Linked DNA regions of Homo sapiens: all the other regions are linked to region 1. Evidence: promoter capture Hi-C in 16 types of primary human blood cells and fetal thymus (Javierre and others, 2016). All regions are on one chromosome and are shown on one strand. The core of a region is centred on a gene start or on the middle of the fragment in contact, and the rest is flanking DNA. Distances in the headings are between cores, read along the strand shown. Region 1 holds the start of NFIA-AS2 (NFIA antisense RNA 2). Region 2 overlaps LINC02778 (long intergenic non-protein coding RNA 2778). Region 3 holds the start of PATJ (PATJ crumbs cell polarity complex component). Region 4 holds the start of TM2D1 (TM2 domain containing 1). Region 5 has its middle 53 kb from the start of TM2D1.

What was found. The method cuts DNA at HindIII sites, captures the fragments that hold promoters and counts their contacts. A CHiCAGO score of 5 or more calls a contact.
Region 2: a contact is called between a fragment that was not itself captured here and the fragment with the promoter of NFIA-AS2 in region 1, in 1 of 17 cell types (endothelial precursors). The highest score is 6.6, in endothelial precursors.
Region 3: the fragment with the promoter of PATJ here is called in contact with the fragment with the promoter of NFIA-AS2 in region 1 in 10 of 17 cell types (M1 macrophages, erythroblasts, monocytes and 7 more); the score reaches 13.8 in M1 macrophages.
Region 4: the fragment with the promoter of TM2D1 here is called in contact with the fragment with the promoter of NFIA-AS2 in region 1 in 7 of 17 cell types (erythroblasts, monocytes, M0 macrophages and 4 more); the score reaches 10.3 in erythroblasts.
Region 5: a contact is called between a fragment that was not itself captured here and the fragment with the promoter of NFIA-AS2 in region 1, in 1 of 17 cell types (monocytes). The highest score is 5.4, in monocytes.

The regions. Positions count from the first base shown.
Region 1 is chr1:60,968,423-60,972,890 of GRCh38, reverse strand. NFIA-AS2 (NFIA antisense RNA 2) reads left to right here and starts at 2,151. Exons shown (of 7, transcript NR_110617.2): 1 at 2,151-2,343. The HindIII fragment of the contact is 8,221 bases long and covers 1-2,458 here.
Region 2 is chr1:60,155,130-60,159,597 of GRCh38, reverse strand. The region is part of intron 1 of LINC02778 (long intergenic non-protein coding RNA 2778); the gene reads right to left. LOC107984963 (a long non-coding RNA gene) reads right to left here. Exons shown (of 3, transcript XR_001738092.1): 3 at 793-1,283. Among named protein-coding and RNA genes, the nearest start is that of LINC02778, 43 kb to the right of the region's middle. The HindIII fragment of the contact is 1,297 bases long and covers 1,979-3,275 here.
Region 3 is chr1:61,741,230-61,745,697 of GRCh38, reverse strand. It overlaps PATJ (PATJ crumbs cell polarity complex component), which reads right to left and starts at 3,218. Exons shown (of 44, transcript NM_001350145.3): 1 at 3,143-3,218. It overlaps PATJ-DT (PATJ divergent transcript), which reads left to right and starts at 2,914. Exons shown (of 1, transcript NR_185910.1): 1 at 2,914-3,700. RefSeq lists a silencer at 2,757-3,466. The HindIII fragment of the contact is 6,850 bases long and covers 1,547-4,468 here.
Region 4 is chr1:61,723,891-61,728,358 of GRCh38, reverse strand. TM2D1 (TM2 domain containing 1) reads left to right here and starts at 3,218. Exons shown (of 7, transcript NM_032027.3): 1 at 3,218-3,402. The coding sequence starts at 3,239. RefSeq lists enhancers at 2,543-3,228, 2,877-3,536, 2,573-3,772, 3,229-3,916. The HindIII fragment of the contact is 25,050 bases long and covers 1-4,468 here.
Region 5 is chr1:61,670,349-61,674,816 of GRCh38, reverse strand. No RefSeq gene overlaps it. Among named protein-coding and RNA genes, the nearest start is that of TM2D1, 53 kb to the left of the region's middle. The HindIII fragment of the contact is 5,025 bases long and covers 153-4,468 here.

The sequences.
Region 1 (4,468 bases), core at 902-3,401:
AGATGTTTTAGGCTGGGCTCCTACACCCAATAACAGCAAATGTCTGGTCTAAATGCTTTACTTAGAGTAACTAATTTAATTCTCATAACAACCCTACGAGGGAGTGCACTTTTTACTCTTGTTTTATGCATGGGAAAATAGAGGTACAAAGCAGTAAAATAGATTTGGGGTTCACATACAGGTGGTCTAGACAGGGAGTCCTTTGACTTAGCCACAGCACCCCACTGCCCCTATGCTTAGGGAAGCTACTGGGGAGAGGAGTGAGATGCTGAATAACAAGGAGACCTATGACAGCCTGGTAACAGCAGGTCATGCCTGCTTGGGTTCAAATACTTGGCCCAGTGCTTAAAGCTGTTTGGTCTTGGGTAAGTTTTTTGTGTGTGTTTATGTGTCAGTTTTTCATCTGTAAAATGAGATTTTGAGATTGCTCACTTCATAGAGAGGTATTATGAGAATGTAATGATTATGTGTGTATGTGTGTGTATGTGCATGCATATGTTCAAGTGTGTGTGCGTATGTGTGTAGCTAAGAATAATCTCTGGTCCTCCAGTTAGTATGATTTGAGAGTTTGCTATCATCATCATTGCAAGGCTATGAAGTGAACTAATTTCCAGACACATAGCGCAGACAAGAGTCACAGATTCTGAGAAGAGGGAGAATTTATTGTCAGCAGGAATGGTCAGGACAGGCTTCAATGAGGAGGTAAGAAGATGTTAAGTGGATCTCGAAGGATAGAATCACAGAGTTGGGAGTTGAAGAGACTTCAGCATTCATGCAATCATATGAGTTTATCTCATAGAAGAAATCTAGGACCACAAGGGAGAGGTGATCATGCCATGTTTATCCAGCTAGTTGGGGACAGGGCCTTGACTGGAACCCAGGTCTCCTCCAAACCATGCCTGTCTGAATTTTTCTGGGCTAGAAAAATTAGAAACCCTGCATCCCCAGTCAATACTGGTGCTCCCTCTTGTAGTCCTCACTCCACTCTAAGCACCCTTTACTACCTTTCCTCTGCCATCCCTTTGGGAGAGATGCAAGTGAGCAATGAATTCGACAGTGATAGGAAAGACCTCCTACAGAAGCAAGGGACTTGATAATCTATAAACAGTTCCTGGGTAAAAACCATGAATGTGTACAGAGCACCTACTATCAGGTGCTTACTGAATTTTCTCAATCTCCACCGTAACTGCTATCATTCTTTGTACAGATAAAAAACCAAAAGGCTTAGTTTTGTAGTATCTTAGTTTTGGTAATTTTCCCAAGATCTCACAAAAAGAAAATGTTTGAGCCAGGATCCGAACAATGGTTTATAAGATTCTTCTATCCACCCACCCATCCATCCACCCACCCATCCCTGCACACACCCATCCATGCACACACTTATCCACCCACCCATCATCCATCTGTCTATCTGTTCATTCATCTTTCCATCCAAGAAACCTTTACTGAGAGTGTGTTCCATGTAAGGCAGTGTGCTTGGTGGTATGGAGCTAAGGAGATACATAGCCCCCTGTCCTCATAGAGCTGAGTGGGGCCTCCTTGAGGGTACTGTTGGGATAGTGTTAGGGAGGAGAGTGATGAGGAAATGGTTTATGTGGAAACTGGGCACTTGGGAAGACCATGACAAGAGGATCAGTGGGTTGCTCCCTGACTCCTGCTTCTAAGGTTGCAGATGAGTGCCCAGCTGGCCAGCTGGCCACTGGCATAGTCTGCCTCTTTGTGTAAAAACTAGTGGAATCACATATGTGCTGCTCCCAGATGCAGTCTCGGCACCAACACCTTCCAAGCAGGAGGTTCTGTCATGGTGCTGCCTGCCAAGCCTTGTCCAGAGGACTGAGGCCACTTGGCCAGTTGCACTGGGCCCTGTGCCTGTGCAGAGACTGTCTCACCACAGCAGCTGGGGGCGGCAGGGAAGGGCAAGAGCTTCTTTTGTGTGTGTGTGTGTGTGTGTGTGTGTGTGTGTGTGTGTGTGTGTGTGTTTAAGCTGGAAAGAAGCCCTTTTTCACTGTGCTCTGTACTTGAGATATTTCACTGAGTGGGAGACAAAGAGGCTTTGTGTGCTCTTCAAAGTGCTCTCTGCTGACTGTGATACACATCCAGGAAAAACCCAGACCAAAGCCATGAAGTCACCCCAAGTTCAAACCCAAAATGCAATTTGCAGTGGTTAGAAATGACAAAGGATGGGTGGTAGGATCCAGAGAAAAAACAGTGAAACCCGATGGACCTTAAATAGATCTGAGGGCACTGATTTGATTATTTTGGGTGAAATCTTTTAAGAAAATCTTGTCAGATTCTTCACAGAAAATTTGGTAAAGCCTATATTTCATCGCCAGCCTAGCAAAGGTAAGACCCACGTTAATTTTCTTGGAATATCACTGTTGTTTTTATTCTTAGGGTGTATGTTAGGGAGAAGAGCAGGGAGGTAGTTTGTCAGATGTTGTTCTTTCCTTGTTAAGCTTCACCTGTTCTTAAGAGCAACTTGCACTTTGTCAGCCACAGAATAGTGCCTGCCGTTCAGGCCAGTGTTTTAGATATAATTGAATTGCTGGGACGCATTAAACATCATAGGGTTTTTAGCGGAGAAATAATTTAATGATGTGGCCTTTAGGATTGTTAATTAGCACTGTCTGTATGAACATGTAACAATAACACCACCTACCGTAAAAGCGAATGTTCTACACTTCAGGACACTCATTTCTTTAGGGCTTCCCGCAGAGAAGCAGTCATTAACTCTTTTTTTGACAAATGCTTTTAGACATGCTCTGTAGGGCCGTGAATTCACCCTTCCCTCCAATCCTGAATCCTTCTCTGCATTTATCCACAAGGCAAGCTGGCAAACAGGGAAACAAGGAGAACTGTGTGCTCAGCCCTCCAGAGTGGCACGGATTATGAGGAGGTGATGGTCCTTCCCCGCCAAGATCCTGAGACACTGTCACTCCGGAATCCAAAAAGAGATTCAGGCAAGGATGTGGGAAAGTTGGAACCCTGCATGCTGTTGGTGGGAATGCCAAATGGTGCAGCTGCTATGGAAAACAGTATGGAGGTTCCTCAAAAAATTAAAAATAGAATTACCATATGATCCAGCAGTCCCACAGGGTATTTATCCAAAAGAATTGAAATGAGGATCTTGAAGAGATATTAGTACTCCCATGTTCATTGCAGCACTATACACAATAGCCAAGATGTAGAAATGAACTAAATATCCAACAACAGATCAATGGATAAAGAAAATGTGGAACACACACACACATACACACACATCCCAGAATATTACTTAGCCTTAAAAAAGAAACTCTAAAATATGTGACAACATGGATGAATCTTGAGGACATTATACTAAATGAAATAAACCACTCAGAGAAAGACGAAACTGCATGATTCCACTTATGTGGGGTATCTAAAATTGCCAAATTCGTAGAATCAAAGAGTGCAATGGTGGTTGCCAGGAGCTAGGTGGAGTGAGAAATGAACAGTTGTTAATCAATGGACATACAGTTTTAGTTAAGCAAGATGAGTGAGTTCTAGAGATCTGCTGTACAACGCTTTACCTATGGTCAATAATACTGTATTGTGTGCTTAAAATTTTGCTAAGAAGGTGGCCCTCATGTTACGTGTTCTTACAAAGTTAAAAAGGAAAAAAGTAATGGGATTGGCTCACTGGAGGAGAAGCTGTTGGCTTGCATCCTGCCTGCCCTGATGAAGGGAATGGTCAGGGGCTTGTTTCTCTGCTGGAGTTCAGGCGGGTCTGTCTGAGCCATGGGTCTGGAGGAGGCCTGCATAGGCAGCATGCCATAGGTTTCTCTGGCTTCCTGAGAACAGAGCCTGATAATGATGGAGAAATGAGAGCTTCCCACTCCTTCTTCTGTTTACATTAGAACAGCCAAGTGTTTCTTCAACCATCCACCATTCCCTTATGTCACATGTCTTCTGAAGACACTTTACCTCTTCAGTGAGGCAAGAGCAGCAGCATGAAGGTATTTGAACACTAGATTGTGCCTTGTTCTTCAGTCAGCCAAACTTTTCCCTAGCCATGTTCTAGGCCTTGATGTCTTCACGAAACCTCACCTTCCAACATCTCACTCTGGCCACAGCCCCCTGTCCTGCTACTTCTCTTACTCCTCTCTCTTCTCACAGCCTTGTCTGGCCTCTGGTCCAGAGATGGCCAATGCCTGGTGTGATTGTTGCCACTCTTTCCAGCTCATTGAGAACCTCACAGACTGATCATGCCACTCTCCTATTAAACCCAGAGGTTGCTTTGGGATCCTTCTCAGCACAGGTTCCATCAACTGGAGTTGATGCGTGAGATGAAAACTATTTGCCATTCCAGCTCCAACTCCTTGATCCACTTTCTCTCAGTCCATCAGGCAGGACAGACTCCACACACTTGCATTTGAACTCTTCATGGCACCCCTCCCCTTCCCTTGCACACGCACATGCTCTGTCTGTCCAATGATGTGTTCTCTCCACT
Region 2 (4,468 bases), core at 1,378-3,877, 810 kb after region 1:
AAACACTTGCTCTATGGGATGCTAATGTATGCTTTATTTTAGGTTCTATGGTTAGTTATGATTCGGGAGACTGGAGTTGAACTGAGTACAAACTCTGAGCAGATTTCTTTAGAACTAAAGCTTTTAATATACTGTTTCACCGTGAACCTTTAAGGACATGAGAGAGAATATTTAGCTCTTCCAAAGCTTTTTTTCTTTTTTTCTCTAACTGAGCACCCCAAGGGACTCATGTTCCATAATCACACTGGGAAATATTGGCCAAGACTGGACCAGCATATAGGATGCTTCGGTCCATCTGACTCTTAGCTTCGGTCCATCTGACTCTTACCTTTAGAGGAATACTGTTTTATCAGTTCATATCAGTTCATCATTTTATTTGATGGCCAGAGTTTTTTCTAACCCATGACAAGTCTAAGTCTATGTCAACAATAATTCATATTAATGAAGGGTTCTATGTGTTGAGGTCTTTGGAGAGTTCCCTTTCAATCCTTTAAACAGCTGGTTCATGAGAAGGGCCACACTTTAATCCTTGACCCCTTAAGTAATTGAACTACCATCTAGATCATAACCTACCACATTATAAGTAAGGAGGCAGACTGATGTGATGGCTCTGAGTTTCGCAGTGATGGAGAAAATCACTTAGATGCTCTTCTGGGCCTCAGTTTCCAATACTTAAAAGAGGATGTTTGTTACTGGTAATCAGCAACCCTCTAGGATTCTACAACAGTGTCATATCATAGGTCAACCTAGAGACTATCAATCTGAAACACTGAATTTTATAAGGTAGGAAGCCATGGCTTAGAAAACAGAATTTCATAGTTCCACGTGGATTCTATATTCTGTAATACCTGGGCAGGAATGGAAGGAGTCCAAGCAAGAGTGGATGAGCCAAGTGGAAGAACAGTATTTCCAGCTAGCCTAAGATTCTCTGAAAGAAAATAGGGCCTAACAGTCGGCATGTGTTAAATTGAGTTGACGAAGGGAAGTGGGACTGGGAATACCTGGAAGAAAGTTATTTGCTTGAGTGAAATTCATTCAATTCAGACGACTTCCTAATCTCCACCCAGAGTTCTTCCAAAGCTATAGACCTGTATATCCAACCCAGAAGACATCTCCACCTACCGATTCAACAGACACCTCCAACTTAATGTGTTTGAAAGAGAACTTGTGTGTTTCCTCCTCTACATATCTCTGATATGGAGTTCAAGACAGTTCCCAGAGATGCTGGCAAGTCTAGGAAGGCAATTTCTTCCATCAGATTGGGCAGTCCTGAGAGCCTTCATCTAAAAGTGAACAGGAAATATTTACCAGGGACTTGGCATTTCCTTCGTCTTCAGAGCTTTCACTTGTGCTGTCTTATTTAACCCCCAATAAAAAACAACATTAATAATTAGGTGGCATTATTCTTATTTTTACAAATTATAAAAGTGAAACTTTGATGGAGTAAATGGTTACTCAAGCTTACACAGCTAGTTAAGTCTGGGAGCTGAAATTCCTACCTACACTTGACTCCTTGACTCCAAACCCTGCATTCCTTTGAGTAGGCTGTCTCCAGCACTGAGAACATCAAAGAATTGGTGCAGATGATGCTAGAGCATAGGGTTGCTGAGCTCTGTTCCTGGGGAGAGGCTGTTTCATGCTCTGTGTTGTGCTGTCTGTCATTAGTAAGCATCGTAGAAATGTTCATTGTCACTAGGAGAGAGTCATGGAACTATTGGGCAGGGAAAGAGATGTTAGGATACAGGTTCAGCAGCTGTCACATGTAATATATTAGGAGGATTTTACTTCCTGTACACATCACTTGAGCAACACACACACAAACACATACACACACACTCCCCACTGTAGTGCTTTCTCTCTCTCTCCCTCTCTGACTGGTTTCTGTGGAAAAAATGTAGAAGATATATTTTAAACGTAAAATAGAGAGCAGCTCACATTTTATTGATAACTCTCATTCACTGAGCACCTATGGTAAGCTTGTGCTCTATAAGCCAACCCAACCTAATTCTCACAGCATTCCTCTGAAATGGGTATTATAAATGGTATTTTGGAGACGAAGAAACTGAGGCACAGAAAGTTTAAAAATTGCTTGAGGTCACACAGCTAGCCAGGGTGCAGGGCTAGGAGAATGAGAATGCAAACACAGGTCTGTCAGGCTCCAAAGCCCAGGATTTCACCAGGATACTTGGCTGCCTCAGCAGGCTCACTCAGTGTGGTGCTGGGTGGACAATCTTGCCAAGAAGGCTCCTGGTGAAGAAAATTATTTTTTAAAATTACTGTTCCTTCCATTGTGTAAAAGTTACCATACACACAGCTCAGCTAGGAAAGTATATATATATATATATATATATATATATATATATATATATATCTCAAAGAGAGCTCCTATCCCTTCCCCCTGGAGCAGACAAAACCTCTAACAAATGCTATTTCATCCTGGTTCACGTGAGAGTTGTATGGGGGAAGCATGGAACATTTCTTGCTGCCAAAGACAAGTCCCAGAATTCTCACATCAGTGCTGCAAGACTGACACCATGTGGCCAAGTCAGCCTCCCGAGGCCCTCCCTTAACCACCTCCCACAGGTTGGAGGCTCACCAGCCTTCTCAGACTTTCTAAGGAAGGCACCTGAGAGGATAGGACAGCAAAGAAAGAACCAACCACCAGGGTGGGGAGCTGCTGGTAGAGTCTATTAGCTCTCTACAGAAGGCAAATACTATGCAAGTAGCCAACTACAAAACTAGGCTGTGGCACAGGAGAACAAGAAACTAGACTTTTTTTTCCCCTAACTTCTGTATTTATTTATCCCTTACCTTGTTCCAAATATACACAGGCAACTAAAAAGATGCTTTGAAGTTCCACTAGGTAATCCATTTTATAATTTGGTGGGCAAGATGAAGCAAGGAGAAACAAAATGGTAGAAATAAAAAAACCCCACACATTTGAAATGAAACAATCTAAAACATGCATAACTAGAAATGCAATACAAGGATTGTCTCTACATCTTCTACATGCCAGTGGGAAGGATGGAGGCCTCATGGTTAGTCTGAGATAAAAACAAACCATGAGGCAATGAAGAGCACAACTGTTCCTCATACTACTAGCAGAAAAAAAAATCCTGAAGTCGTTTTAGAGAGGGCAGGATGTAAAGGTCATGAATAATGTCAGTTCACAGATAAGCATAATTGGCCCAAATGATCTTTTGAGCTCAGCAAATCAGAAAGCCTGAACACTTCAACTCATCCTCTACTTTTGCATTCTTAAAATAATACAAGCTTTTTTTCTCATTATTTGCTTTGACTTTGTGTGTGTGTGTATAGAATGTTTTGTGCTTCCCCTTTAAATGATTGTCGCCAATTAGTTTTGTTTGTCTAAAATGCGATAAGATTCCATTTTAAGAAGTCGATGCTGGGCTTTTACTGAGGAACACAATAAATTAATCATTAAATCAATTGTATTGATTGAAGCTTGCAAGACATGAAAAATTGCAGAGCAAGGAATATTTCCACGAAGAGGTAGGAAAGGACCTCAGCATTCTGGGGGAAGGTAAATAAGTATGCTATGATAATACTGTTTCATTTCTTCCCTGGGATATGAGCTTCATTTATCAACTCTACAATAAATATGGTGACCATTTAATTTCAAACATTTACCGTAAATAATAGCTTCCATTTATTAAGTGCTCACTAAGCACTCTATTCTATGCTTAGTGCTTTCATACATTATGTCACGTAACCCTAACAATAAATCTGGTTGGAGCACATCTCTATCCCCATTTTGTAGAAGAGAATACTGAGGCTGATGCGCATGAGTAACTTGTTCAGAGTGACCCATCTAATGAAAATGTCTGGCTTGGAACCCACTTCTGAGTGAACCGAAAGCCCATGCTCTTAACACTGAATTCTATCTTAAATTAATAAACTAATAGAGAGAGAGGCTTGAAATTCTGCAGCATGCTTCCCTACCTTTTTTCAGGGCTGCTCGTGCCTCCTCAAAGTGTGCCAACAGTGTAAGGAAATAGAGTTTTGGAGCCAAGATTAGGTTTTATTTGGAAGAAAATGAATATTGGTTACCAAAGCCAAGGCAATGAGTAGAGTTGCAGGGTAAGAACTGAGACACCAAAAAGCACCCAATGCAAAATGCTTAGATGAGAGCCAATGGACATAAACACCAAGGCAGATAGGAGGCATAGGGTGGGGGTGGAGGGGTGTGTCAGAGTGTTTTATTATTCACATGAAGTGGCACAAAGAGCCTTTGGCAGAAACTGCCAAGGACTTTGGGCATATACAGGCGTAGTTTTCAACTTTCGAGTCCATAGCATGTACCTTAAGCACATCATTTAAGATTCTAAGCCTCAGTGTCCTTATGTATAAAATGGGAGCAGTCAGATCTCCCTCAAACTGCTGCTGTGAGGTTTAAGTGTGATAATGTATGTGAAACTCTTAAAAGGGAACATCTGGTACAGAGTCC
Region 3 (4,468 bases), core at 1,969-4,468, 770 kb before region 1:
TGGGAGGCAGAGGTTGTAGTGAGCCAAGACAGCGCCATTGCACTCCAGCCTGGGCAACAGAGCAAGACTCCGTCTCCAAATAAATAAATTAATTAATTAAAATAAAATAAAGTAAAATAATTTTGGCTAGGTGCAGTGACTCACGCCTGTAATCCCAGCACTTTGGGAGGCCAAGACAGGTGGATCACTTGAGGTCAGGAGTTCGAGACCAGCCTGGCCAATATGGTAAAACCCTGTCTCTACTAAAAATACAAAAATTAGCCAGGTATGGTGGCACATGTCTGTAATCCCAGCTACTCAGGAGTCTGAGGCAGGACAATCACTTGAACCCGGGAAGTGGAGGTTGCAGTGAGCTGAGATCACCCACTGCACTCCAGCCTGGGCAGCGGAGCAAGACTCTGTCTCAAAATAAATAAATAAATAAATATTTAAAAAAATTATCTGATCTCCCTTGTCTGATTGTAGGTCATAAGACCCCCATAAGAAGGGGTCCTGCCCATACCCTGGAGGAAGGAATGCTACAGAGAGAGGCCAAGAAAAATCTGAACAGATAGGCATTGCTGGGTTTCCCTACCCCATGCTTCAATTATGTCTACTCAATGAAGTCTCCATAAAAAGCCCAAGAAGATGGGGTAGGGAGAGCTTCTCAATATCTGAACACATGGAGGTTCCTGGAGGGTGGCATGCCCCTTCTCATACCTCACCCTGTGCATCTCTTCCTCTTGTATCCTCTGTAATATTCTTAATAATAAACTAGTAATAAACCTAAATAAGTGTTTTCTTGAGTTCCGTGAGCTGCTCTAGCAAGTTAACCAACCCAGAGGAGGGAGTTATGGGATTCCCAATTTATAGGTGGTTAGTCAGAAGCCGGGGTAAAACAATCTAGGACTTGTGATTGGCATCAGAAGTGAGGGCAGTCTTATGGGATCTGACACTATCCCCAGGTAAATAGTTTCAGAATCGAACTGTTAGATGCTCAGCTATTGCTTGATGCAGAACTGATGGGCCCACACATTTATTTGGTCACAGAAGTCCTCAGTGTTGACTGTAGTGGTGTGAGAGCAGAGGAAAAAGTTTGTGTTTTTTCTCTTACTCCTAATAGGATCTGGACTAGTAAGGGCAAATCTCTTCAGAACTCATTTTATAAGTTCTATCCATAAGTATTTCCATATTTATTAACTTTGTTATTATCTTTGTGAAAGTTGCAGATACCAGGTCAAAATCACTTTTTGTCAAACCCAAACAAACTAGAGAGCCTGAGGGAGAAAGCTCATGCTTGCAAGTCTGAGATAAAGATCGGTCTCAAGAAGGAACTAAAATAACCACCCAAGAAATTCTTTCTTTAGGAATGCAGTAATTCAGATAAGATAAGATAAGATAATCTTTTTTCCTTTTTTTTTTTTTTTTTTTTTTGAGACAGGGTTCTTGCTCTGTCACCCAGGCTGGAGTGTAGTGGTGCAAACACCACTCACCACAGCCTCCATCTCCTGGGCTCAAGCAATTCCCCTGCCTCAACCTCCCGACACACCTGACTATTTAAAAAGCTTTTTCTGTAAAGACAGCCATGTTGCTCAGGCTGGTCTCCAACTCTTGGCCTCAAGCGATCCTCCTGCCTAAGCCTCCTAAGTAGCTGAGATAACAGGCATGAGGCAGGTTGCCAGGCCTGATAAGATGCTCTCCATAACACCTGCCCAGTAATGGCATCTTCAACAATGGCCAACTCTGGCTTTCAGTCTGCAAAACCAATAAACTCTGTTTTCACGCAGCTTATCTGCACTTACTTTGCCAATAAAAGTTTCCTTTTACCCTCCCCTCTTCCATGCATATATGGCTTGCCAGGCCTGTGCACCTCGGGCTATAACGCTCATTTCTCATTCCCAAATAAATTCAACACATTTGGAGTGTTTTGTTGTTGTTGTTATTGTTAACATCTTAAAGGCCATTAGGGGCCCTAAAAACATCAAAGCTCACTTTAGCTAAAAGGCTCAATCTCACCTAACATTTTCTAATGCTGCAAACAGATTTAAGTTTTTAACCGCTGCCCCTGCCTCCACTCCTTTCAAATAGATGTGTGCAAATTAATTTGCAGCCAATAGGAATTTAGCCCAGAATGTGGTAGTATCATCCTCAGTGGAACCGACATTGTCCTTCTGGGTTTCCAAAGGCTTCTGCCTTCCTTTAAGAAACACTTGTCGCGCACCTACCAATAGCCAGACCCTAAATGCAGTCGAAAAATAAGGCCCTGAAAGGGGCACCCTCTAAATGGCAGAGGCAAGCCAGTAAACAACCAACTGGAATTCAAAGTGACAAGAGCCACTTGGAAATATGACAAAGTGCCAAGTGAAGGGGTGTTCACTTAATTCGGCCTGCGTGCGGGACGGCTGGGGCGCTTTGGAGAGTGGGAGTGATCTGAAAATGCTTTCCTGAGCTTGATTTAAAAGCAGGAGTCCAGGAATTTCCCCTAAGGCTGGAAGCACTTTCCGACAGAACCTCCCCATCTACGCAGCAAGGCTGGCAGAGCCCAGGGCCTGACCGCTGGCTTGGGAACCTCCGCTACGGGATGACCAGGCGCCGCGACGCGGCCGGGCCCAAGTCGCCCCCTCAGCCCGGCTCTGAGCACCCCCTCCTCTTTGTCCCCTCACCCCGTTCCCTCCTTCCACGGCCACCGATGGAGGGAAAGACTCCGCCCAGCTCTGGGAGCGAAACAGGGGCACCGATCTGGGCGCAAAATAGGATCCGTGCCACCCCCGAATACCAGTGGGCCGAGATTCGAGGCCCGAAAGGCCTGGGGAGGCGGGGCGGCGCCCCTCCCTGCCCGCGGCCTCGGCGAGCCCTGCGCGGCGGGGCGGGGACCACCGTGGGGTCACCCGGGCCCGACGCAGGAGGACGGCGCCCCCGCCCCGCCTCCCGGGTCAGCGCGGACGCACGCCGCGGGCGCCCCATCCTCGCCGCGGCCCCTCTGAGCGCCCGGCGGCGCCCTCCACCTCCGGCTCCCACCCACTCCAGGCGGGCGGGCGGGGAGAGCGCGGGGGCAGGGCAGGCAGGCCCGGGAAGCCCCGAGGGAGCTGCCCCCGGCCGGCCTCCAGGCGCGGGGACACCCAGGGGCGAGCGCGCACTGCACAGCCGGGACCTCACGCTTTACCTGGTGCGCTGGAGGAGCAGGTGGGAGCCCGGGTCGGGCGGGCTCGGTGTCGGCCCTGCCTCACCTGGGCGGAAGTGAGAGGCCCAGGGTGACCGCGCCTCACCTGGCAGGCCCTCCCCTCGCCCCGACTCTCCCCGCCCGGGGCGGGGCACCGGGGTGGCGCAGGGGGCGGGGGAGGGAGCCCGGGGCCGCGGGAGGCGGGCTCCAAGGAGGGAGGACGGTTGCCCTGGCTGTTTACGTGCAGGTGAATTCCTACCGGGCGCGGGATGGCCAAGGGCCTGGGAAAAGTGGGCTGTGGGGGCGGGGTGGCGGATCAGACCGCGCGTGGTGGGGACAGCCGCCACTGACGGGGAGGGAGATCCGGACAGACCGGTGTGGTTGGAGGCCTGCGTGTAGAGCGAGACCCAAGATCAAGGAAATTGAGGAGGATATCGATGAAAGCGTTGGGTCAATCCGCTTAACACTTTGTCTTTTTGCCCCTTTCCTTTCCTGTTCTCTCATCCCTCCTTTGTTTTCTCTATTCGCTGACGCAAAATAAAATATTCTAAAACGTGTAAATGTGGGAGTCATTATTTTCTTCTCATTTAGTGGAAGAAAGAAATCCAGCAGTATTTGCCTGCTGTATGCTAGGTGCTAGCTTATGCAATGTCTCATTTACTCTCTGAAGAAACTAATGAGGAAACCGTGCACCCTGTAGGTTGACTGGCCCAAAGTTTGGAACACAGGCAAGGCATTTTGACTCTAACTACAGTGATGATTTCACTATACGTTAATTTTCTTTTATTTGTGATGTCACACCTTCGAGAAAAATATGTCCCGATAGCCTTCTTCCACTCCCTTTAATAACTTTAGGCTTTTGATGATAGGGGTTTTACTTTGCCTGATACAGTCCACACATTAACGATAAAGAGAATCAATCTTCAGGTATCTTATTCATAGAGTACATACAGTAATTGTTAAACACTGTGATTGATTGTGGGAAGATGTGTAAAATGGTATCCCTGTCCCCAGGAAGATGAGGAATAGATACAAAACAACTACAACATAAAGACTTTCAGGCGGGGCGCGGTGGCTCACGCTTGTAATCCCAGTACTTTGGAAGGCCGAGGCGGGTGGATCACCCGAGGTCAGGAGTTCGAGACCAGCCTGACCAATATGATGAAACCCCGTCTCTACTACAAATACAAAAATTAGCCGGGTGTGGTGGATGCGTAGTCCCCTCTACGCAGGAGGCTGAGGCAGGAGAATCACTTGAACCCAGGAGGCAGAGGTTGCAGTGAGCCAAGATCCTGCCACTGCACTCCAGCCTGGGTGACAGAGAGAGAC
Region 4 (4,468 bases), core at 1,969-4,468, 750 kb before region 1:
CAACCTCCGCCTCCCGGGTTCAAGTGATTCTCCTACCTCAGCCTCTGGAGTAGCTGGGACTATAGGCGCGTCCCACCACGCCGGGCTAATTGTTTGTATTTTTAGCAGAGTCAGGGTTTCACCGTGTTAGCCAGGATGGTCTTGATCTCCTGACATCACGATCCGCCCACCTTGGTTTCCCAAAGTGCTGGGAATACAAGTGTGAGCCACTGCGCCCAGCCCTAGGCTATACCTTTTTAAGCAGTCATGTATCCTACAAAAATATAGCGTTTCAACTACTATTTTGGGAGAATCTTTTTTAAATGTTTCTTTTTCTTTTCTTTTTTTTGTTCAAGCCATCTGCCTTCCTTGGCCTTCCAAAGTGCTAGGATTACAGGCTTGAGCCACCACGCCAGGCACAGGAGGAATATCTTAAGCAAACCCATTGTCCTACTACAGTAGCTAGTATGTGCTTCTAATGTAACAATTATCAAACACTTATCAAATAGTATTTAACTGTTTGTATTTTCCCTTACCAAACAGGAAGTGCTTACCTGCAGGGTTTTTGTCTAAATTTTTGAGTCTAGGGTCTAGCTTCATGCTGAGTACATAGTAAATGCTCAATTAAAAACAATTTTTTTTTCCTTTTTGGAGGGAGAGGGAGGACGGAAAAAAAGGAAAGAAAGGAAAAACGAAGGAAGAAAAAAGAGAGAAGGAAGAAGTCCATTTAGAATAGGAAGTTTATAACTGAACTACTAAATTTTTCACTTAAATCATTTAAACCTGATTTAAAGCATAAATATTATGTATAAATGTCTTAAATTAAAAATAGCGGCGGGGCGCGGTGGCTCACGCCTGTATTCCAGCACTTTGGGAAGCCAAGGCGGGCGGATCACGAGGTCAGGAGTTCGAGACTAGCCTGACCAACATGGTGAAATCCTGTCTCTACTAAAAAATACAAAAATTAGCTGCGCGTGGTGGCGTGCGCCTGTAATCCCAGCTACTCAGGAGGCTGAGGCAGGAGAATTGCTTGACCCCGGGAGGCAGAGGTTGCAGTGAGCCAAGATCGTGCCACTGCACTCCAGCCTGGATGACAGAGCGAGACTCCATCTCAAAAAATAGCAGCGGGGCGTGGTGGTTCATGCCTGTAATCCCAGACCTTTGGGAGGCTCAGACGGGTGGATCACCTGAGGTCGGAAGTTGGAGACTAGCCTGATCAACATGGAGAAACCCCGTCTCTACTAAAAATACAAAATTAGCCAGGCGTGGTGACTCATGGCTGTAATTCCAGCTACTCAGGAGGCTGAGGTAGGAGAATAGCTTGAACCTGGGAAGTGGAGTTTGCAGTAAGCGAGAATCGTGCCATTGCACTCCAGCCTGGGCAACAAGAGCAAAACTCCCGTCTCAACTCCATTTCTGTCTCTAAATGAATGAATGAATAAAGCATAGTAATGCTACAAAGTTGTTTTATTATGAAAATTTTAGGGCCAGGCGCCGTGGCTCGCGCCTGTAATCCCAGCACTTTGGGAGGCAGAGGCGGGTGGATCACCTTAAGTCATGAGTTCGAGACCAGCCTGCTCAACATGGTGAAACCTCGTCTCTACTAAAAATACAAAAATTAGCTGGGCTGGTAGTGGGCGCCGTAATCCCAGCCTTTCCGGATGCTGAGACAGGAGAATAGCTTGAACCTGGGAGGCGGAGGTTGCAGTGAGCCGAGATCATGCCATTGCAGTCCAGCCTGGGCAACAACAGTGAAACTCCACCTCAAAAAAAGAAAATTTAAAAACGTAGTTTATGTTTAAATATTACTTCAAATAGTTGTATGTCTTCCAGAATATATATTCCAAAATGAGGCCAGGCACAGTGTGGCCTCACACCTGAAATCCCAGCACTTTAGGAGGCAGAGGCGGGCAGATCACTTAGGCCAGGAGTTCGAGACCAGCCTGGCCAAAATGGTGAAACCCTGTCTTTACTAAAAATACAAAAATTAGCTGAGCGTGGTGGCGCACGCGTGCAGTCCCAGCTACTCAGGAGGTTGAGGCAGGCGAATCACTTGAACCAGAAGGCAGAGGTTGCAGTGAGCTGAGATTCTGCCACTGTACTCCAGCCTGGGTGGCAGAGAGAGATTCCATCTTAAAAAAAAAAATTTACTTCTCGTAAAACATTATACCAGTGTTCTCAAAGTGGGGGTCCCTGGACTAGCAACACCCACATCCCTTGGGATCTCCTAGAAATGGAAATTATCCAGTCCCTCCCTACATCTTTTGTATCAGAAACTCTGAGTGCCGGTTCTATCATTCTGTTTTAATAACTACTACAGGTGATTCAGATGCTATTCAAAGTTTGAGAACCACCAAAGTTAGTGCTAAAGTATGGATGAAGAAGCACCACTCAAGTTCAAATTTTTATATTGTTAGACAAAAAAAAGATTAAACTTAACTTTACGAAAACATTTTTTCCTCACTGTTAAAGTTCCCCACCACAGAACTTTTAGAACATATAGAAATTTAAAAACAACAGATGGAGGAAAAAAAATCTTCAACTTTTCACTTAATCATAAACTATTTGGTTTCCTCTTGTTACAGTTTCCACCCCCCAAATTATCCCCCACCTAAATTGTCACTTTTTTTTTTTAAAAGGCGTAATGTCTCTCACAGTTTTTAAGTTCTGTTCGTGGCAGCCTTCCAAAATCCTTCTCTAAAGTTACAGGAGGACATTATGTCAATTAGTAAGAGCATAGATCTGAAATCTGGCAAACATCAATTTCATTCCGACTGAGTCACTTAGTGATTAAGGTCAGTGTGTTTCAGCGTCTTTGAGCCTTGTTCCTTATCTGTAAACCCAAAACCTATCAGGGCTAACTGCGATGATGTCAGGAAAGCATTGATTCCAACCTCTGACGCCGCTGGCACTTTCAGAGGACCGAGAAGCCTCAGCTAAGGGCGCGGGAATGAGAAGCGGGTGAAGCACCTGATTGCCTAAACCACTCGTTTCCTTCCTCCAGCACTCAAAGATTAACCTTAGCTCCTTCCAAGGGTTCGTGGGGGAAAATTCGCCTCGAGGGACTGGGTACATGCATATTTTAAAAGGGTCTCCCAATGTGATTCCACGGGCTCACGGGCAGAAGAACACGCGAAGAGACGGAACTGGCCTCTATCCTATGCGAGGTCCCTTTAAGAACCTCGCCCTGTTGCCCTTCTCCCTCCCGCTCCTGGGCGGAGGCGGAAGCGGAAGTGGCGAGAAAGTGTCGGTCTCCAAGATGGCGGCCGCCTGGCCGTCTGGTCCGTCTGCTCCGGAGGCCGTGACGGCCAGACTCGTTGGTGTCCTGTGGTTCGTCTCAGTCACTACAGGACCCTGGGGGGCTGTTGCCACCTCCGCCGGGGGCGAGGAGTCGCTTAAGTGCGAGGACCTCAAAGTGGGACAATATCCTCTGTGGAGAACACCCCCCCATGGAGGCGAGGTAGAGTTGGGGTCGCAGGTGGGTCGCTGCCGTCAGGACTGGCTAGGGCTGTACTGAGTGAAAACGATAATCTGATCTGTGGCTTCTAATGACTGAAGGATCCCTGAAGGTGAACAGAGTTGTGGAGATGGGAGGGCCAGAGGCCACCCTTTGTGATTTCCTTATGATTTTACTAGTCATTGGCGCTTCCTCTTCTGATCCACTTTTTTTTTCTTTTTTATCAGTGTGCTTACTTGTTCAGTAAAACATGTAGATCCTGAAGTATGCCAGGCCCCGTTCTAGACACTAGTAATACAAAGATGGATAGTCTCTTACCCTGGAAATGTTTGCCAACTCTTCCTAGGGGGAAGACAAGTAATAACGATCTAGCCAATGTGTTGCCCATTTATCATTAACTTTATGTATATTATGCATATTACCTCATGTCATCTTCAAACTTCATGAGATGGTAGACTGCCAGACAAATTTCTTTCTGTTTTCTTTTTTTGAGACAGGGTCTTACTCTGTCGCCCTGGCTGGAGTACAGTGGCACGATCTCAGCTCACTGCAGCCTCCGCCTCCCGGGTTCAGTCAATTCTCCTGCCTCAGCCTCCTGAGTAGCTGGGACTACAGGCATGCGCCACCACACCCGGGTAATTTTTGTATTTTTAGTAGAGACGGGGTTTACGCCATGTTGGCCAGGCTGGTCTTGAACTCCTGGTCTCAAGCGATCCGCATCCCCCTCACCATGAACCACCGCGTGGGGACTCAGTGGATAAATTTCTGTTGCACTTTGCAACCTTGGGTGACCTATTTGAACTCTGTTTTCTCATGAGTAAAAACGTGGATAATTATGGGGCAAATTTAAAGGTTTATTGTAATGTTTATGTATTATTATATTATTTGTAGAGACAGACTTCTCGTTATGTTGCCCAGGCTGTTCTTCCCAAACTCCTGGGCTCCAGTGATCCTCCTGCCTCAAGTATTACTTAGCAATACTAAAAGTATATTTGTACATATGCTTATTGACTTGGACAAACTAGCAGCCTC
Region 5 (4,468 bases), core at 1,416-3,915, 700 kb before region 1:
ACTTTGAAAAAATTAATTTTCCTCTATGATGCTTTCGAGCATATTGCCCCACATAATTTTTTTTAGTGATCTCTCTAGACATTGCAATATAAATACATAACTTATCACCGTCTACTGGTGTCAACACTTTGCCTCTTTAAGTGTTGAAAGCTTACTTCCATTTAGGTCCCTTTGTGCTTCCCACTTCTAAAATACAATTGTCTCAAGTATTTCCTCTACATATATTGAGCACCACCACATCAGATAGTGTTACAAATTTTGCCTCACTTAGTAGCACCTGTAGGCTATTTAAAAAAATTTTTGTCTGGGTGCGGTGGCTCATACCTGTAATCTCAGCTACTCCAGGGGCTGAGGCAAGAGAATCACTTGAATCCAGGAGGCGGAGGCTGCAGGGAGTCGAGATCATGCTACACTGCACTCCAGCCTGGGAGACAGAGTGAGTAAGACTCAGCCTCAAGTAAACAAAAAAATTTTGCTTCACCTACCAAATATGATGTAAGAAACTTATGAAGGGAAGTTAGTCTGCTATATTTACCCAATATTTATCCATTCTGTTCTTGTTCTTTTAATTTCCAAAGTTCCCAGCCTTATCCTGTTACTTTCTTTCTGTTTGGAGAGTTTACTTTAGCTATTCTTCAAGGGTGAGTTTAATGGCAACTAAGTTTCTTAGTTTTCCTTCATGTGTGAATATCTTTATTCCCCTTCCGTTTCTGAAGGATAATGTCACCAGATATAGGATGCATAACTGAAAGTTCTTTTCTTTCAGCACTTGAAAAGTGTTGTGTCATTTCTTCCTGGCCTTTACAGTTTCAGATGAAAAACCCATCCTCTAAATTGGTGTTCCTCTACAGGCAGTGCATCATTTCTCTCTGGCCTTATTTTTTTTCTTTGGTTTTCAGAAGTTTAATTATGATGTACCTTGGTCAGAAGAAGAAATGTAACAGCAGACACAGAGGTCACAGTGATGTGATTACTGCTTGGAAGGTGGAAGGAGGCCATGAGCCAAGGAATGCAACTGGCCTCTAGAAGGAAGCTCAGAAAGGCAAGGAAACAGATTCTCCCATAGGTGCCTCCAGAAGGACACAGCCTTATAACACTTTCTCCTGAGCTCCTTGAGACTCATTTTGAAATTCTGTACCTCCAGAACTATAAGATAATAAATTTGTGTTGTTTTAAGGCACTAAATTTCTGGTGGTCTGGAGCAGCAATGATGGGAAACAAATATAGGCCTCAAAACCTCCTTTCACATATGGCCACTTATGTGGACAACGGAGTCAAACTTTCTTGGTTCAGATTCTACCCTCTGCCTCTTAGTGTGCTGTGTGACCTTGGACAAGATACTTCATCTCTCTGAGCCTGTTTCCTCATCTATCAATAGGGAATGAAGTAATAATACCAAACTACCCATTAACATGTCTGTTTCTATTTCCTCGGGACCTATATGTAACATTTTCAAAATTGTTCTCATCTGCTTTTTTTTCCCTTAAATAATAGACTTTATTATTTAGAGCAGTTTTAGGTTCATAGCAAAATTTAGTAGAAAGTACAAAGATTTTCCACTATCCCCACACATGCATACCCCTCTCCCACCACTATCAAGATCCTTACTACAGTGGTATATTTATTACAGTCGATAAGCCTACATCGACACATCATTATCACCCAGAGTCCATAGTTTACATGAGGGTTCACTCTTGGTGTATATTCTGTGGTTTTGGACAAATGTATAATGACATGGAGTCACTATTACAGTGTCATATAGAAATAGTTTCATTGCCCTTAACATCCTCTGTGCTCTGCTTATTCATCCCTCCCCACCCCCACTCCTGGCAATCACTGATTTTTTTACTATCTCCATAGTTTGGCTTTTCAAGAATGTTATACAGTTGGAATCATATAGTATGTAGGCTTTTCAGACTGGCTCCTTTCACTTAGTAATATGCATTTAAGTTTCTTTCATGTCTTTTCACAGCTTGACAACTCAGTTCCCTTTATCACTGAATAATACTTCACTGACTGGATGTACCACAGTTTATTTTCCATTCACCTACTGAAGGACATCTTGGTTGCTTCCAAGTTTTGGCAATTATGAATAAAGCTGCTATAGACGTCTATGTGCAGGTTTTTGTGTGGACATAAATTTTCAACTCCTTTGAGTAAATACCAAGGAGTGTGATTGCTGAATCATATGGTAAGAACAAGTTTAGTTTTGTAAGAAACTGCCAATCTGTCTTCCAGAATATCTGTACCATTTTGCATTCCCATGAGCAATGAATGAGAGTTCCTGTTGCTACACATCCTCTCCAGAATTTGGTGGTGTCAGTGTGCTGGATTTTGGCTATTCTCACAGGCATGTAGGGGTATCTCATGGTCATTTTAATTTGCGTTTCGCTGATTACATATGATGTAGAGCATCTTTTCGTATGCCTGTATGTCATCTGTATACTTCTTTGGTAAGATGTCTATTATGGTCTTTGGCCCATTTTTTATTCACGTTTTCTGATTTTTATATTTTTTAGAGGTAGGGTTTCACTCTATTGTCCAGGCTGGAGTGCAGTGGCATGATCATAGTTCACTGTAAACTCCAGCCCCTGGGCTCAAGCAATCCAAGCAATCCTCCCACCTCACACTCCCAAATAGCTAGGACTACAGGCATGAGCCACTGTGCCTAGCTAATTTTTTCTCTTTTCTTTTTCTTTCGTTTTTTTTTTTTGAGACGGAGTCTCGTTCTTTCGCCCAGGCTAGAGTGCAGTGGCACAATCTCGGCTCACTGCAACCTCTGCCTCCCAGGTTCAAGCAATTCTCTGCCTCAGCCTCCTGAGTAGCTAGGATTACAGGCACCTGCCACCACGCCCAGCTAATTTTTGTATTTTTAGTAGAGATGGGGTTTCACCATCCTGGCCAGGCTGGTCTTGAGCTCTTGACCTCGGGATCCACCCGCCTTGGCCTCCCAAAGTGCTGGGATTACAGGCATGAGCCACCGCGCCTGGCCTAAATTTTTTATTTTCTTGTAGAGAAGGGGTCTCACTATGTTGCCCAGGCTGGTTTCAAACTGGCCTCAAGAGATTCCCCTGCCTTGGCCTCCCAAAGTGCTGGGATTACAGGCATGAGCCACTGCGCCTGGCCCCTATTTTCTTGTTGTTGAGTTTAAAAGGTTTTTTTGTATATTTTGTGTAACAGTTCTTTATCAAATATGTCTTTTGCAAATATTTTCCCCCAGTCTGTGGTTTGTCTTTTCATTCTCTTGGCAGTAACCTTTGCAGAGCAGATATTTTGAATTTTAATGATGTCCAGCTTATGAATTATGTCTTTCATGAATGGTGCCTTTGGTGTTGTATCTAAAAAGTCATTACCAGACCCAAGAGCATCTAGATTTTCTCCTATGTTTTCTTCTAGGAGTTTTATAGCTTTGTGTCTCACATTTAGGTTTGTGATTCATTTTGAGTTAATTATCGTGGAGGGTGTAAAGTCTGCATGTAAATTCACTTTTTCTATGTGGATATCCAGTTGTCCCAGCACCAGTGGTTGAAAACTCATCCTCATTTTTAAACTTATTTCCCCCTTATTCATTATGACAGGGGAAATAGCAGCACGTCCACCAAGAAAGAAGCCCAGAAGTTATCTTTGATGCCATTTTCTCCCTTCCTTGGGTGGATCACCAAACCTTTAATTCCACCTCATAAATACTCTGAAATCATTACTTCATCCTCATTGCAACCCTGCTATTTCAGGCTCCTGAATATCTCTCATCTAGGATCCTCTGATAAACTCCTGCCTTGGTTACCTGGCCAGAGCTCCACCTTCCTCTCCGTCACCCTTCCTACTCCTACCATACCAGACTGATGGTTCCGAAAAGAAAGCGATCATCTCTGTCTCTTGCTTAAAACCCTCAAGAAGCTACCTATGTCATTTAAGATAAAATCCAGATTCCTTTTTCTGGCTTAAAAGGTTTATCCTGATTGAGTCCCAGCCACCCTGCCCTGTCCCCTCACAGTGAGTACTTGGTCTGCTGACCCCTTGAGATGACTGGAATGTGCCCTGGTCTCTTTTAGCCTGAGAATTTTGCTTACTGCTGCTGCTTGTTCTGAAACTGCTCTGCTCACCTCCTTGGAAGGATTTCCTTCAGGTTCTTGAAGATGTGGTCGGAGGTTAGAAGTCCAAATCTGGTCTCAGTGGGCTAAAACAAAAGTATCAGCAGGGCTCTGTCCTTCCGGAGGCTGTAGGGGAGAATCTGTTTCCTTGCTTTTTCTAGTTCCTTTTTTTTTAAACTTTATAATTTCAACTTTTATTTCTGATTCAGGGGTACATGTGCAGGTTTGTTACATGAGTATATTGCATGATGCTGAGGTCTGGGTGCAATTGATCTGTCATCCAGGAAGTGAGCATAGTACTCAATAGGTAGTTTTTCCACCCTTGCCCTCCTCTCCCTCCCCACTCTAGTAGTTCCCAGTGTCCATTCTTGCCATCT